Regions from separate parts of the Homo sapiens genome. Here regions 1 and 3 are each linked to region 2. Evidence: promoter capture Hi-C in human tissues and cell types (Jung and others, 2019). All regions are on one chromosome and are shown on one strand. The core of a region is centred on a gene start or on the middle of the fragment in contact, and the rest is flanking DNA. Distances in the headings are between cores, read along the strand shown. Region 1 holds the start of GATA1 (GATA binding protein 1). Region 2 holds the start of OTUD5 (OTU deubiquitinase 5). Region 3 overlaps LOC105373195 (a long non-coding RNA gene).

Region 1 (4,310 bases), core at 339-2,838, 170 kb after region 2:
CCACTATTCCCTCATCCCCTCAACTCCACCTTACCCACCATGATCTCCCTCCAGCCCCACTGCCCCCAACCCCTGCACCTCACACGTTGGTGAGTCCAGGGCTGCCCACCCCTCCCATGGCAGGGGCCCAGCCTCCTCACCCCCAGTTATCACTCTCCGGACAGAGATAAAGTTTATCTCGAGGCTGGGGGATATGAAAGCTCCTTATCAGCTGCCCCACTAGAGTAAGTGTTGCCCCAACGGCGGCAGCAGGCAGCAGCTGGCACCCTCCACTCTCCCTCGGCCCCAGCCCCTCACCCCAGGTAACGTTCCAATCCCAGCCCTCAAGGGAGGGTCTCACCGGGCTGAAGGGAGCAGATATAAGGTCTAGGGGGCAGATATGGGGCTTAGGGGGAGATAGAGGTGGAATTTGAAGGTCAGATATGGGGTTAAGTCAGAGAGGTTTGGGGTGTAGCCATGGAGTTTGTGGGGAGGCAGATATGGGCGGGGTTGTGGAGCAGAGACGAGCTTGGAAGTTCAGAGACACATTTTGGGCTCAGGAATAGGTTGTGAAAACAGACGAGGTTGGGGGATCGGGGCGAAGTTTGAGAGTCAGAAATAAAGTTGAGAAGTAGTGTGGGAGTCAGATTCTGAGGGTCATAGAAAAGTCTGGGGAGTTCAAGGGTTTTTCTGGAGGAGAGATGGAGTTTAGGAGTCAAAGATCTGTTTGGGCAGACAGAATGTGGCTAGTAAAGGGGAGTTTGAGAAGCCAAGATAGAATTGGAGTAGAGAAAGGCTTGGAGCTGGAGAGATTCAGGGAGACAATGAGATGTGTTTTAGGGCTGAGATACGGTTTGGGGAAGGCAGACATGAGGGTTCATGCGGCAGAACAGATTTTGGGGAGTTGACTTGGTGTTTGAAGTGACAAAGATATTTTACTGAGCAGGCAGGGAGTTGGGAGAGATAAATGGTTTGCGGAGATCAGAGAGAAGTCATTGGGAACAAAGAGTGGGTTTGAAAGGCAGAGATGGTGGTAAGAGGATGGAGCTAGGGTTTGGCAGATCAGAGACAGGTTTGGGGGCTCAGAGAGAGTGGGGCAAAGACAAGGCGTTGTAGAGCAGATAAGGGGTTTGGGAGCAGAAAAGTGAGGTTTGGAGGAGAAGTCAGGGAGACAGAGACAAGTTTGGGTGAGTGGAAATCAGATATGGGACAGGGAAAGGATTTGGGGAGATAAAGTCATGTTTTGGGAGACAGAGTTAGTGTTTAGGGGAGACAGACCTAGGGGTATAGCGAGCAAAGTGAAGGGATCCAGAGGATATAGATATCTTGGACGGAGTGGATGAGAGGGCAGAAAGAGGTGGGGTTTAGGGGGTAGATTTGGGGTAGAAATGGGAGTTGGAAAGACAGGTGGGTTGGAGGAGCTGTAAAGGGATTCAGGGCTGGCTGACACTTTGGGGACCAGCTGTGGGTTGGGGAGCCTGGAGCAAGCATAAGGGTAGGGGCAGCAGGCCCAGGGTTGCCTTGGTGGGGGCTCTCTGGGGGCTGAGACTGACCTGGGCTGGTGGTTGCGGAGGGTTCGGCCGCCTTGGGGATGTGGCAAGCTCAGTGTGATCCCAGGGGGTGTCCTGGCTGGCCTTGGCCTTTGAGGCTCCCTTCCTCCCTCCCTCCCTCCCTCCCTTCTCCCTCCTCCCTCCTCCCCAGGGAGTGGCTGGTGCCCCAGTGGGTGGGGCAGTCCAGGGGAGGGGGCGGGTCCCATGCTTGTGGGGCACCTCTTGGGCACTGGAGGCCCTCTTCCACCCTCCCTGCCCACCCTGGGGATTCTTGGACCTCGCTCGACCTAGGCTCCCGTGGACTGTAGTGTCCAGACAAGCAAAATAGGCTGAAACCAAGATAAATGAAAATAGCAGATATGGTTTCATGACTTCACTGGGCTTTTCAGAGAGTAAAGCCCTTAATTTGTGCGGGGCCGGTGTGGGCTAGACTCCTGTGTATGTGCGTCTTCCTGGCTGCAGGGAGAGAAGGGATGTGGCTGTACCCATTTTGCAGGTGAGAAGAGTGAGGCTCAGAGAGGTTCTGCTGGATTTGAACTAGAGCCTGTGGGATACCTTGATGACCCAGGCTAAGCCTGCAGGCCAGGCCAGTGCTGGCGGGAGGCAGGGGCACACTCACTTAGCGCCCCACTGGGGCTTACGCCAGCTCCGGCCTGCCCTGGGGCAGCAGATAAGTCTTATCAGATGTAGGCGACCGTGGCTGTTGGCGCCGCAGTAACAGGCTGTCTTGGGGTGAGGGTGTGGGGGTAGGAACACCCAGGGACAGTGGCCTCAACTTCTTGCCCGCCATGCTGCCTTGGAGGCGGGAAACTGAGGTGGGAGCCAGGGATGATTCCTCGAGGAGTGGTATAGGGTAGGAAAGGAAAGGGGTGGAGTGGGAGAGACAGAGGCAGAGAGACAAACAAAAACAGAGATAGGCGGAGAGAGATGGAAATGGGGAGAAAGAGAGTGACAGAGATGAATAGAGAAGGAGACAGACGTGGAAAGAGGCAGAGAGAGGGCACAAAAGAAAAGGAGAGACAAAGAGGGCGAGACACCCGGGGAGAACCAGAGACCATTAAAGACATATAGAGAGAGGCAAAGAGAGAATGAGAGACAGAGATGGACAGAAGTGACAGATAAAACCTGAAAGGGAAAGAGGCCAAAGACAGAAGTGGAGAACTGAGAAGGGAGACAGAGACAGAGGGATATTCAGAGACAGACTCAGAAGAAGGTCCAGGCAGACTGGATCACACCCTGGGCATGTGGTGCCCATGCAGGTAGGATGGGAGGATGTGGATTGATGTAGCCTGTGGCTCTGCCCTCAGCCCTCAGCAGGGGACAACCAGAATGTGGCTAGGCCTCCGCACCCCAGTCCCCACACTCTTGCCCTGCCCCACCTCCTCCAAATATTAATGACAACAACCACAGTGTCTCATAGACCTCACATAGACTTGTACCTAACCTGAGCACTTTTTCTATATGAAAGCATCTGACACACATGCACACGTGGGACAAGGAGCTGTCCTGCCCACCTAGTCTACAGATGGGGAGACTGAGACCTACAAAGGGCAGAGGCCAAGGGTGGAGCCCCAGGTCAGTGGGGTCAGCTTGCCCACTGGCCCACCCTGGAGGGATCTTACCATTCTTATCTCACTCCTCTGAGCCTCAGTGTCCTCATATGCAATGGGAGATTTGAGGAGGAAAGAGAGCAAGCCCATGAATTCCTATTTATTGAGCTCCTGCTGGTGTGCCACGCCCCATGCTGAACCCTCATCAGTAATAAGGAGAACGAATACAAAGACACCTCTGACTTAAGTGGCAGTGGTTTCAGGAGATGGTCTCTAGAGCCAGCTCATCCTCGTTCATAGACTGCCCTAACCACTAATGGATCAGGTGACCTTGGGAGAGTTACCATCCCCTCTGGAATTTAGCTCCTCATCTGTAAAAATGGGGTAATAATATACCCCAATAAGCCACTCCATGCAGTGACTGGGGAGACTAAATGAGTTTTAACCCATGTTACATGATCTTAACTTACTTGAATCTGAAATCTCAATAAATATTAAGTACCCCTATTTATTTATTGAGTACCTACTGCATACAAGGGAGAGTACATAGCCCTTTCTAACCCTACTACTACTTATAGTACTAATGCTAATAATATGCTGACACTAAGAGTAATACCAATATTGTAATATTGATACTGACACTAAAACTAATTTTATTTCTTTAAATTTATGATTGACACATAATAGTTGTACATATATATGGGGTAAAACATGATGTTTTGTTACATGTATACATTGTGTAGTGATCAAATCAAGGTAATTAGCATATTCATCACCTTAAACATTTATCTTTTCTTTGTGATGAGAACATTCGAGAACGCCTCTTTCAGCTATTTTGAAATATACATTTATTGTTGACTCTAGTCATTGTACTATGCATTAGAACACCAGAACTTATGCCTCCTATCTAACTGTAGCTTTGTACCCATTGACAGCCTCTCCCCATCCCTCCCTGCCTCCTACCCTCCCATCTGCTGGTAACCACTATTCTACTCTCTACTTCTATGAGGACATACTAATTTTCATAGTAATACTCATCTAATGCTAATACTAATTTTAATCTAACACTAATACTATTATTAATACTAACACTAATTCTAAAACTATTCTAATTCTAACAACAATAGTGATAATGATACGTACTAAATATTTTTTGGGGACAGTGTCTCACTATGTCACTCAGGCTGGAGTGCAGTGACAATCTTGGCTCACTGCAGCCTCCACCTCCTGG
Region 2 (4,373 bases), core at 1,341-3,840:
AGTGGCTTGGACCAGAGTAGTGGCAGTAGAATTGGAGAGTCTAGAGATTTGGGAGGCAGAATTGGCAGGACTTGGGATTGACAGGCATGTGGGAGTTGAGGAAGAGGGAGCAGTCAAAGTTGACTCCCAGTTTCTGGCTTGGACGACGGCTGGATGGGAGTGCTATTCCCTGGTAAAGGGAACATCAGAGCTGTCAGCACTCAGTGCTAGGTACATAGTAAGTACTTGGTGAAGGGTAGCCATGATTGCTATCATGAGTTCAGTTTTAGATGTGTAGTGAGTGAAATATATGGGGCTGGAGTGAGATGATCATGAGAAGATTCAATGTGATAATGTGCATAGGCATTTGGCACAGAGCCCTGAACACAACAGGCCCGGTAAACGTGAAAGTCCCCTCCTATTAAGTCTCATGAGCAGAAAACACTACTTAGAGCCCATTTATTACTTACACCTTTCAGGGAAGAATTTCAACTAGGGTTAGTATCTCAAGGGAGGCAAGGCTATACTCAAAACAGCTTTCCCATGGTCTCTTTCAGTCAACCTGTTGTATGGTTTGTCTCCTAAGACTGGAAGTGAACTCCAAATACCTTCTTGGTTCATCAGCTCATCTGAACCCCATAACCATTCCCTGAGGTAGTCTGGGCAGGTATTATCATTCCTGTTTTACACATGGGTAATCTCAAAAGTGACACAATGACTTGCTCAAGGTCATACAGTTGGTAATGGTCCATCTGTGCCTGGAACTGAGGTCTTTCTGGCTCCAAAGCCTGGGATCCTTCCACTGCACCACCATGCAGACTACTTTATTGAACACTTCCTATGTGCTGGGCACAGCACCAGGCCCTTCACAAGCATTAATCTCTGATCCTCGGATTAGAATTATTGCCAATTTATAGAATAGAAATTAAGGATGGGTGCTCACTTCGCACCACATATACTAAAATTAGAACGATACAGAGATTAGCATGGCACTATGCGAAAGGATGACACGCAAATACGTGAAGCGTTCTATAAAAAAGTAAACAACAACAACAAAAATTGAGGACGGGGTGGGTTTTAAATGACTGACAAAGATCACTCAGACAGGAAGGGCAGAGCTAGGATTAGCGTGTAGCTCTCCAGCTACTCAATAGCAGGGATTCTGCCAACCCCATTTTGAGACGCTGACTGGTGACAGAGCTTTCATAAACCTCGATCGACCCAAGCAAACTCAGTTTTAGAAAAAGGCTGGGCTTGGCCAGGCGCGGTGACTAACGCCTGTAATCCCAGCACTCTGGGAAGCCGAGGCGGGAGGATCGCTTGAGCCCGGGAGCTGGAGATCAGCCTGGGCAACATAGTGAGACTTTGTCCCTACAAAAAAGTGAAAAAAAAATTAGCCGGTCGTAGTGGTGCGCGCCTGTGGTCCCAGCTATTCGGGAGGCTGAGGCGGGAGGATCGCTTGAACCTGGGAGTTGGAGTTTGCAGTGAGCTATGATCGCGCCACTGCATTCCAACCTGGGCGACAGAGTGAGACCCCTGTCTCAATTAGGAAAAAAAAAAAAAAAAAAAAAAAAAAAGGCTGGGCCGCGCCTGCGCACTAGCCATAGGGGCGGGGAGGTCAACGCGAGGCCGAGAGTGCTGTGGTGCCAGAGAAGGCGTGTCTGTTTCCCAAACAACCACTGTCCCCACGGCGCCTGTCTGTCCCAAGGTTGGTCGGTATGCCGCGAGTGACGGCGTCTCTTAACCAATCACCGCAGAACTCAGGCTGTTGCCGGGGCGAAGCGGTGTCCGCCTCCCCCGGAAGGGTATTTGTAGGTGGGTGGGACCGGAAGTGACGCTACAGGGGCCAGCTATGCTCCCGGGAGTGTTGATGTTTTCCAGTCATTCCGGCTGACAGCGTTCAAGTTGGAATCCTGGAGGGGAGGTGTTTTTCCTGTCGTACGTGGGACAGGCCACGCTGTCCGTCCGCAGTACCGACGCCTGCAGGTCAGAGCTTCGGGGAGAAAAGTGAAGAGCAAGACGGAACTGACGGGGAGAAAGGCTGGGAACCAGGGTGTCGACTTTGACTGAAATTTGAGACGGAGGGCACCGGAGGGCGAGCACTCGCCTGTGATTGGCCCGTGGGCGTCGTCGAGGTCCCACGCAGCTGCTCAATTGGTTGGTGTTGCAATTGTTGTGGCGGCGGCGGCGGCGATTTTGCCCACGTACTTCCGAGTAAGGGGCGGGGCTGTGCCCTGGCGCGCGTGCGCAGCGCCCCGGGGCCCCACCCGGTAGTGCAAGAACCTGCGAGGGGGCGGAGCGAAGAGGTGCTTGTTTTGGTTCTGTTTCCTTTGAAGCAGAAGGCCGGAACAAGCGTAGCAATAAACTTGCTGGACTTGGAGAGAAGGCTAAGACAAACTCGCCGCACTGCCTTCATCTTGGACTTTACATCCGGGTTCTCCTCTCGGCGTGACCCGCGCGCCGCCACCGCCGCCGCCGCCGCCGCCGCCTCCTCCGCCGCCGAGGGTTCTCGAACCGGTGCCGCGATCCCTTTATCCGGGTCTCGCCGTTCCCGTCGTGCCTCGCGCACTACACTAGCCCCCTCATCCGGGTTCTCTCCCGGCGTGCCCCGCGCCGGGTTTGTTGGGGGGTACTCGGCAGTGCAGCCATGACTATACTCCCCAAAAAGAAGCCGCCGCCTCCCGACGCCGACCCCGCCAACGAGCCGCCGCCGCCCGGGCCGATGCCCCCGGCGCCGCGGCGCGGCGGAGGTGTGGGCGTGGGCGGCGGCGGCACGGGCGTGGGCGGCGGCGATCGCGACCGTGACTCCGGCGTCGTGGGGGCCCGTCCGCGAGCTTCGCCACCGCCTCAAGGCCCGCTACCAGGACCGCCGGGCGCTCTTCATCGCTGGGCGCTGGCCGTGCCGCCTGGTGCAGTGGCGGGTCCCCGGCCACAACAGGCTTCTCCACCTCCTTGCGGGGGCCCAGGTGGTCCCGGCGGCGGTCCCGGCGACGCGCTGGGCGCAGCGGCGGCGGGTGTGGGTGCCGCGGGCGTGGTGGTGGGTGTGGGTGGTGCCGTAGGCGTGGGCGGCTGCTGCTCCGGGCCTGGGCACAGCAAGCGGCGACGTCAAGCTCCCGGGGTTGGCGCGGTTGGCGGGGGCAGTCCCGAGCGTGAGGAGGTCGGCGCAGGCTACAACAGTGAGGACGAGTATGAGGCGGCTGCAGCACGCATCGAGGCTATGGACCCTGCCACTGTCGAGCAGGTAAGAGCTGTGGGGTGAGGGGTGAGCGGCCACGGCAGATGGGACCCCCAGACTGTGAAGGGACTCAAGGAAGGCTGTTTGAGATCGCCCCAAGGGATCTAGGCGTTTTCACTGGGCCTGACAGTCTTCTCTGGCGGTAGGGATGTGAGACACCTTCTTTCCTCCCCTCCAGGATTTTGGGGCTAGAGGCCTACGGTAAGGTGTCAGACTTAAAGATCCGAGGTCTCTTTTAAGGTCTATAGTCGTCATTCCAGTCCCTGGGACCTCATCATATAGGGCCAATAGGTGGGAATTCTCCAAGAGATACAGGTAGGATCGCGCCCCTCTTGAGTAGGAGTCTCAGGTCTCCCAAGAGACTTAGGTATGTGTTCAGTGGCTTAAGAGCTCTTTTCCTCTGGGATAGAAGTTTGAGATTCCCCTTCCAGGAAAGTCAAATAAGGTGGAGACCTCGGAGATCGGGGCTGAACATCCCCAAGGAGCCTAAGCCCTTTCAAGAGTCTGAGACACTCTGCATATAGGACAATCCTCTCCCGCTTCGCTGGGTAACACTGCACAGGACCACTGAATAGCCAGACCTGAGACCTCAAGGGTCCTAAGTCTGTCTTCAGGGGCCTGAGAGTCCTGCTTCTAGAATCAAGGTCCTGACACACACACACACACACACGCCCCCTTTAAGGATAGGGATCTTCTAAGCTTTTTCCAGGGATGTAAGACTTTTCACAGGGAGATATGATTCCCTTGCCCTTGGGGACAGGGACCAAAACCAACACCCAATGACCAGCAGCTTTACTTATCTCCTTTCTGAGTGACAAAGGTCTGCATTTCCTATCAGTGGCCTGAGACCTACCTCTTGGGAGACAAGGGCCTGAACCGCTTCAGGATCTTAAGCTTCTTGTAAGAAGAGATGGGCCCTCAGCACCCCCACCAGGGGCCTGAACCTTTCTTCAGGAAAATGAGACTCACAGCGTTGGATCCTAGGGCCTAAGATCCACCTGCTTATGGACTGAGGTTTTTAGAGACCGAGTCTGAGGCCTCTTCAGGGGCCTGGTGTCCTGCTGCAAAGGTCTCAGACAAGGTGAAGTCTTTAGGAGATCCTTCTTCTCAAGGCTGGTGTCTGAGTGGTTTTGGGGATCTGAGACTCCCCACCCCACGA
Region 3 (4,579 bases), core at 1,693-4,192, 190 kb before region 2:
GCAGAAGGGTTACTGGACTGAGGGGGACTAGGCTCATGTGCACCCAAAGAGCCCATGGTCAGAATGACAGTCGGGGGCAAGGACATTGAGTTTCTTGTCGATACTGGTGCTGAACATCCAGTAGTAACCACCCTGGTCGCCCCCTTATCCAAAAAGACTATTGATATAATCAGAACCACGGGGGTTTCGGCAAAGCAAGCTTTCTGTTTGCCCTGGACCTGCACTGTCGGGGGACATGAGGTAATTCACCAGTTCCTGTACATGCCTGACTGCCCCTTGCCTTTACTGGGAAGGGACCTACTTAGCAAGCTGAGAGCCACTATCTCTTTTACAAAGCATGGCTCTTTACAGCTAAAGTTACCTGGAAAGGGAGTCATCATGGCCCTTATGGTTCCTCGGGAGGAGGAATGGAGACTCTTCTTAGCTGAGCCAGGCCAAGAGATAGGACCAGCTCTGGCTAAGCGGTGGCCAAGGGTGTGGGAGGAAGACAACCCGCCAGGGTTGGCAATCAACCAGGCCCCCATACTAATAGAAGTTAAGCCTGGGGCCCAGCTGGTCAGGCAAAAGCAGTACCTGGTCCCCAGAGAAGCCCTTGAGGGCATCCGGGTCCATCTCAAGCATCTGAGGGCCTTTGGAATTATAGTCCTTTGTCAGTCTCCATGGAACACTCCCCTCCTACCTGTTCCCAAGCTGAGGACCAAGGACTACAGGCCAGTACAGGATTTGCATATGGTCAACCAAGCAAAGTGACTTTGCATCCAACCCATACACATTGTTGGGGTTGCTGCCAGCTGAGGACAGCTGGTTCACCTGCTTGGACCTAAAAAATGCTTTCTTTAGCATCAGACTATCTCCTGAGAGCCAAAAACTGTTTGCCTTTCAGTGGGAGGATCTGGAGTCAGCTGTCACCACTCAGTACACTTGGACCCGGCTCCCCCAAGGGTTCAAGAACTCCCCCACCATCTTCGGGGAGGCACTGGCTCGAGACCTCCAGAAAATTCCCACCAGAGACCTAGGCTTCGTGCTGCTCCAGTACGTTGACAACTTCCTGCTGGGACACCCCATGGCAGTCATGTGTGCCAAGGGAATGGATACCCTGCTCTGGCACCTGGAGGACTATAGGTATAAGGTGTCCAAGAAGGAAGCTCAGATCTGCAGATAGCAGGTATGTTACCTGGGATTTACTATCCGACAGGGAGAGCACAGCCTGGGATCAGAAAGAAAGCAAGTCATCTGCAACCTGCTGGAGCCTAAGACCAGAAGGCAGGTGAGAGAATTCTTAGGAGCTGTAGGGTTCTGCAGATTGTGGATCCCAAACTTTGCAGTATTGGCTAAGCCCCTGTACGGAGTCACAAAGTGAGGAGACACAGAACTTTTCAAATGGGGGTCCCAACAGCAATGAGCTTTTCATGAGTTAAAAGAGAAACTCATGTCGGCCCCAGCCCTGGGGCTACCTGACCTAACAAAACCTTTCACACTGTATGTGTCAGAGAGAGAAAAAATGGCCATTGGAGTTTTAATCCAGATGGTGGGGCCCTGGCCAAGACCGGTAGCCTACCTCTCCAAAGAGCTAGATGGAGTTTCTAAGGCAAGGTCTGAAAGATGCGAGATGTAGAAGTACCAGCCTAACAACTTTTCAAGTGACTCTTGGCCTAGGTGGGTGGTCTCATGCACAGCCAGTATGACTGCGGCTCCTAGCAGTTGTGGCATGGCTATTCTTCCATCCGACAACTGGATCCATCCCTCTTCTATCACCTGCCCTCCCTCTGCCTGGAGAAAGTCCAGGCAGGATGAATTGCTGGTGAATTATCTCATGCCCCCTGACAGTGCAGGTCTGGGGCAAACAGAAAGCTTGCTTTGCCGAAACCCCCGTGGCTCCAATTATATCAATAGTCTTTTTGGATAAGGGGGCGACTGGGGTGGTTACTACTGAATGTTCAGCACCAGTATCGACAAGAATTATCTGTCGATAATTGAGCCTGGCCCCTGTGCTTAAGAGCCTTGGCAGCAACTGCCCTGCTAGCACTAGAGGCAGATAAGCTACCTCTTGCCCTAACTTTATGTTTAGGGCAAAACCTAAACATAAAGGCCCCCTAGCTGGGCACGGTGGTTCACGCTTGTAATACCAGCACTTTGGGAGGCTGAGGCGGGCGGGTCATGAGGTCAGGAGATCGAGATCATCCTGGCTAACACGGTGAAACCCCATCTCTACTAAAAATACAGAAAAATTAGCCGGGCATGGTGGCGGGCGCCTGTAGTCCCAGCTACTCGGGAGGCTGAGGCAGGAGAATGGCGTGATCCCGGGAGGCAGAGCTTGCAGTGAGCCAAGATCGCACCACTGCACTCCAGCCTGGGCAACAGAGTGAGACTCCATCTCAAAAAAAAGAAAAAACATAAAGGCCTCCCCATGCTGTGGTAACACTAATGAACACCAAAGGACGTAACTGGCTAACGAATGCTAGACTAACTAGGTACCAAAGCTTGCTCTGTGAGAATCCCCGCATAACCATTGAAGTTTGCAACACCCTGAACCCCGCCACCTTGCTCCTGGTATCAGAGAGCCAAGTTGAACATAACTGTGTAGAGGTGTTGCAGTCAGTTTATTCTAGCAGGCCCGACCTCCGAGACCATCCTTGGACAACAGTAGACTGGGAGCTGTACGTGGACGGGAGCAGCTTTGTCGACCCACAAGAAGAGAGGTGTGTAGGATATGGTAATCCTGGATGCTGTCATTGAAGCCAAATCGTTGCCCTAGGGCACTTCAGCCCGCAAGACCAAACTCATTGCTTTAATTCTGGCCTTTGAGCTAAGTGAAGGTAAGACTGTAAACATTTACACTGACTCTTGGTATGCCTTTTTAACTCTCCAACTGCGTGGGGCATTCTACAAGGAAAAAGCCCTGTTGAACGCTGGGAGAAAAGACATAAAGTATCAGCAAGAGATCCTGCAATTATTAGAGGCAGTGTGGAAGCCCCAAAAGGTGGCTCATGCACTGCAGAGGACACCAGCGAGCTTCTACCTCGATTGCCTTGGGGAACCCCCAAGCTGACTCAGAGGCTCGAAAAGCAGCATCCACCCCCTACCAGGCATCAGTCACAGCCCCCTGCTCCCTCAGGCACCTGACCTTGTACCTACTTATTCTAAAGAGAAGGACTTTCTCCAGGCAGAGGGAGGGCAGGTGATAGAAGAGGGATGGATCCAGTTATCGGATGGAAGAATAGCTGTGCCACAACTGCTAGGAGCCGCAGTCATACTGGCTGTGCATGAGACCACCCACCTAGGCCAAGAGTCACTTGAAAAGTTGTTAGGCTGGTACTTCTACATCTTGCATCTTTCAGCCCTTGCCAAAACAGTGGCGCAGCAGTGTGTCACCTTCTGGCAGCACAATGCTAGGCAAGGTCTAACCATCCCCGCCAGCATACAAGCTTATGGAGCAGCCCCTTTTGAAGATCTCCAAGTAGACTTCACCAAGATGCCCAAATGTGGAGGTAACAAGTATTTGCTAGTTCTAGTGTGTACATACTCTGGGTGGGTGGAGGCCTATCCAACACGGACCGAGAAAGCTCGTGAAGTAACCCATGTGCTTCTCCGAGATCTCATCCCTAGGTTTGGACTGCCCTTACAAATCAGCTCAGACAACGGGCCGGCATTTGTGGCTGACTTGTTACAGAAGACAGCAAAGGTATTGGGGATCACATGGAAACTACATACCACCTACTGACCACAAAGTTCCGGAAAGGTGAAGCAGATGAATCGCACTATCGGAAATAGTTTAGGGAAAGTGTGTCAAGAAACAGGATTAAAGTGGGTACAAGCTCTCCCTATGGTATTATTTAAGATTAGATGTACCCCTTCTAGAAGAACAGGATATTCCCCTTATGAAATATTATATCATAGGCCCCCTCCCATACTACGGGGACTCCCAGGCACTCCTCGAGAGCTAGGTGAAATTGCGTTACAGCGACAGCTACAGGCTTTAGGGAAAATTACACAATTTCAGCCTGGGTAAATGAGAGGTGCCCCGGCAGCTTATTCTCCCCAGTTCACCCTTTCTCCCCAGGTGATCAGGTGTGGATCAAGGATTGGAACATAGGCTCCTTGCGGCCACGGTGGAAAGGACCCCAGACCATCATCTTGACCACTCCCACAGCCGTAAAGATAGAGGGAATCCCAGCCTGGATCCAACACAGCCAGGTAAAACCTGCAGCACCTGAGACCTGGGAGGTGAGACCAAGCCTAGATAACCCCTGCAAAGTGACTCTGAAGAAGATGACAAGCCCTGCTCCAGTCACACTCAGAAGCTGACTGGTCCACGCATGGCCAAAGCATGAGAAAACTCATCGTGGGACTCATTTTCCTTAAATTTTGGACTTGTACAGTAAGGACTTCAGCTGACCTTCCTCAGACTGAGAACTGTTCCCAGTCACTAAGGTAGGACAAAATCAAGTCACTAAGGTAGGACAAAAGGTTGCTGCAGTCCTATTATTTTATAGTTAGTATGAGTGTACTGGGACTCTAAAAGGAACTTGTTTGTATAATGCTACTCTATACAAGGTATGTAGCCCAGGAAGTGACCAGT

What was found. Contacts are between HindIII fragments. The study calls those that stand out against the background at their distance.
Region 1: the fragment with the promoter of GATA1 here is called in contact with the fragment with the promoter of OTUD5 in region 2 in 1 of the 25 tissues and cell types used here (pancreas).
Region 3: a contact is called between a fragment that was not itself captured here and the fragment with the promoter of OTUD5 in region 2, in 1 of the 25 tissues and cell types used here (dorsolateral prefrontal cortex).

What each region holds. Positions count from the first base shown.
Region 1 is chrX:48,783,868-48,788,177 of GRCh38, reverse strand. GATA1 (GATA binding protein 1) reads right to left here and starts at 1,588. Exons shown (of 6, transcript NM_002049.4): 1 at 1,533-1,588. RefSeq lists cis regulatory regions at 1,341-2,461, 2,901-3,561. The HindIII fragment of the contact is 13,466 bases long and covers 1-4,310 here.
Region 2 is chrX:48,955,824-48,960,196 of GRCh38, reverse strand. It overlaps OTUD5 (OTU deubiquitinase 5), which reads left to right and starts at 2,590. Exons shown (of 9, transcript NM_001136157.2): 1 at 2,590-3,220. The coding sequence starts at 2,627. It also overlaps the pseudogene RNU6-722P. RefSeq lists an enhancer at 1,844-2,033 and silencers at 2,134-2,293, 2,494-2,543, 2,914-2,973. The HindIII fragment of the contact is 5,335 bases long and covers 1-4,298 here.
Region 3 is chrX:49,141,824-49,146,402 of GRCh38, reverse strand. LOC105373195 (a long non-coding RNA gene) reads left to right here. Exons shown (of 3, transcript XR_007068230.1): 3 at 884-4,579. Among named protein-coding and RNA genes, the nearest start is that of MAGIX, 19 kb to the left of the region's middle. The HindIII fragment of the contact is 3,834 bases long and covers 1,026-4,579 here.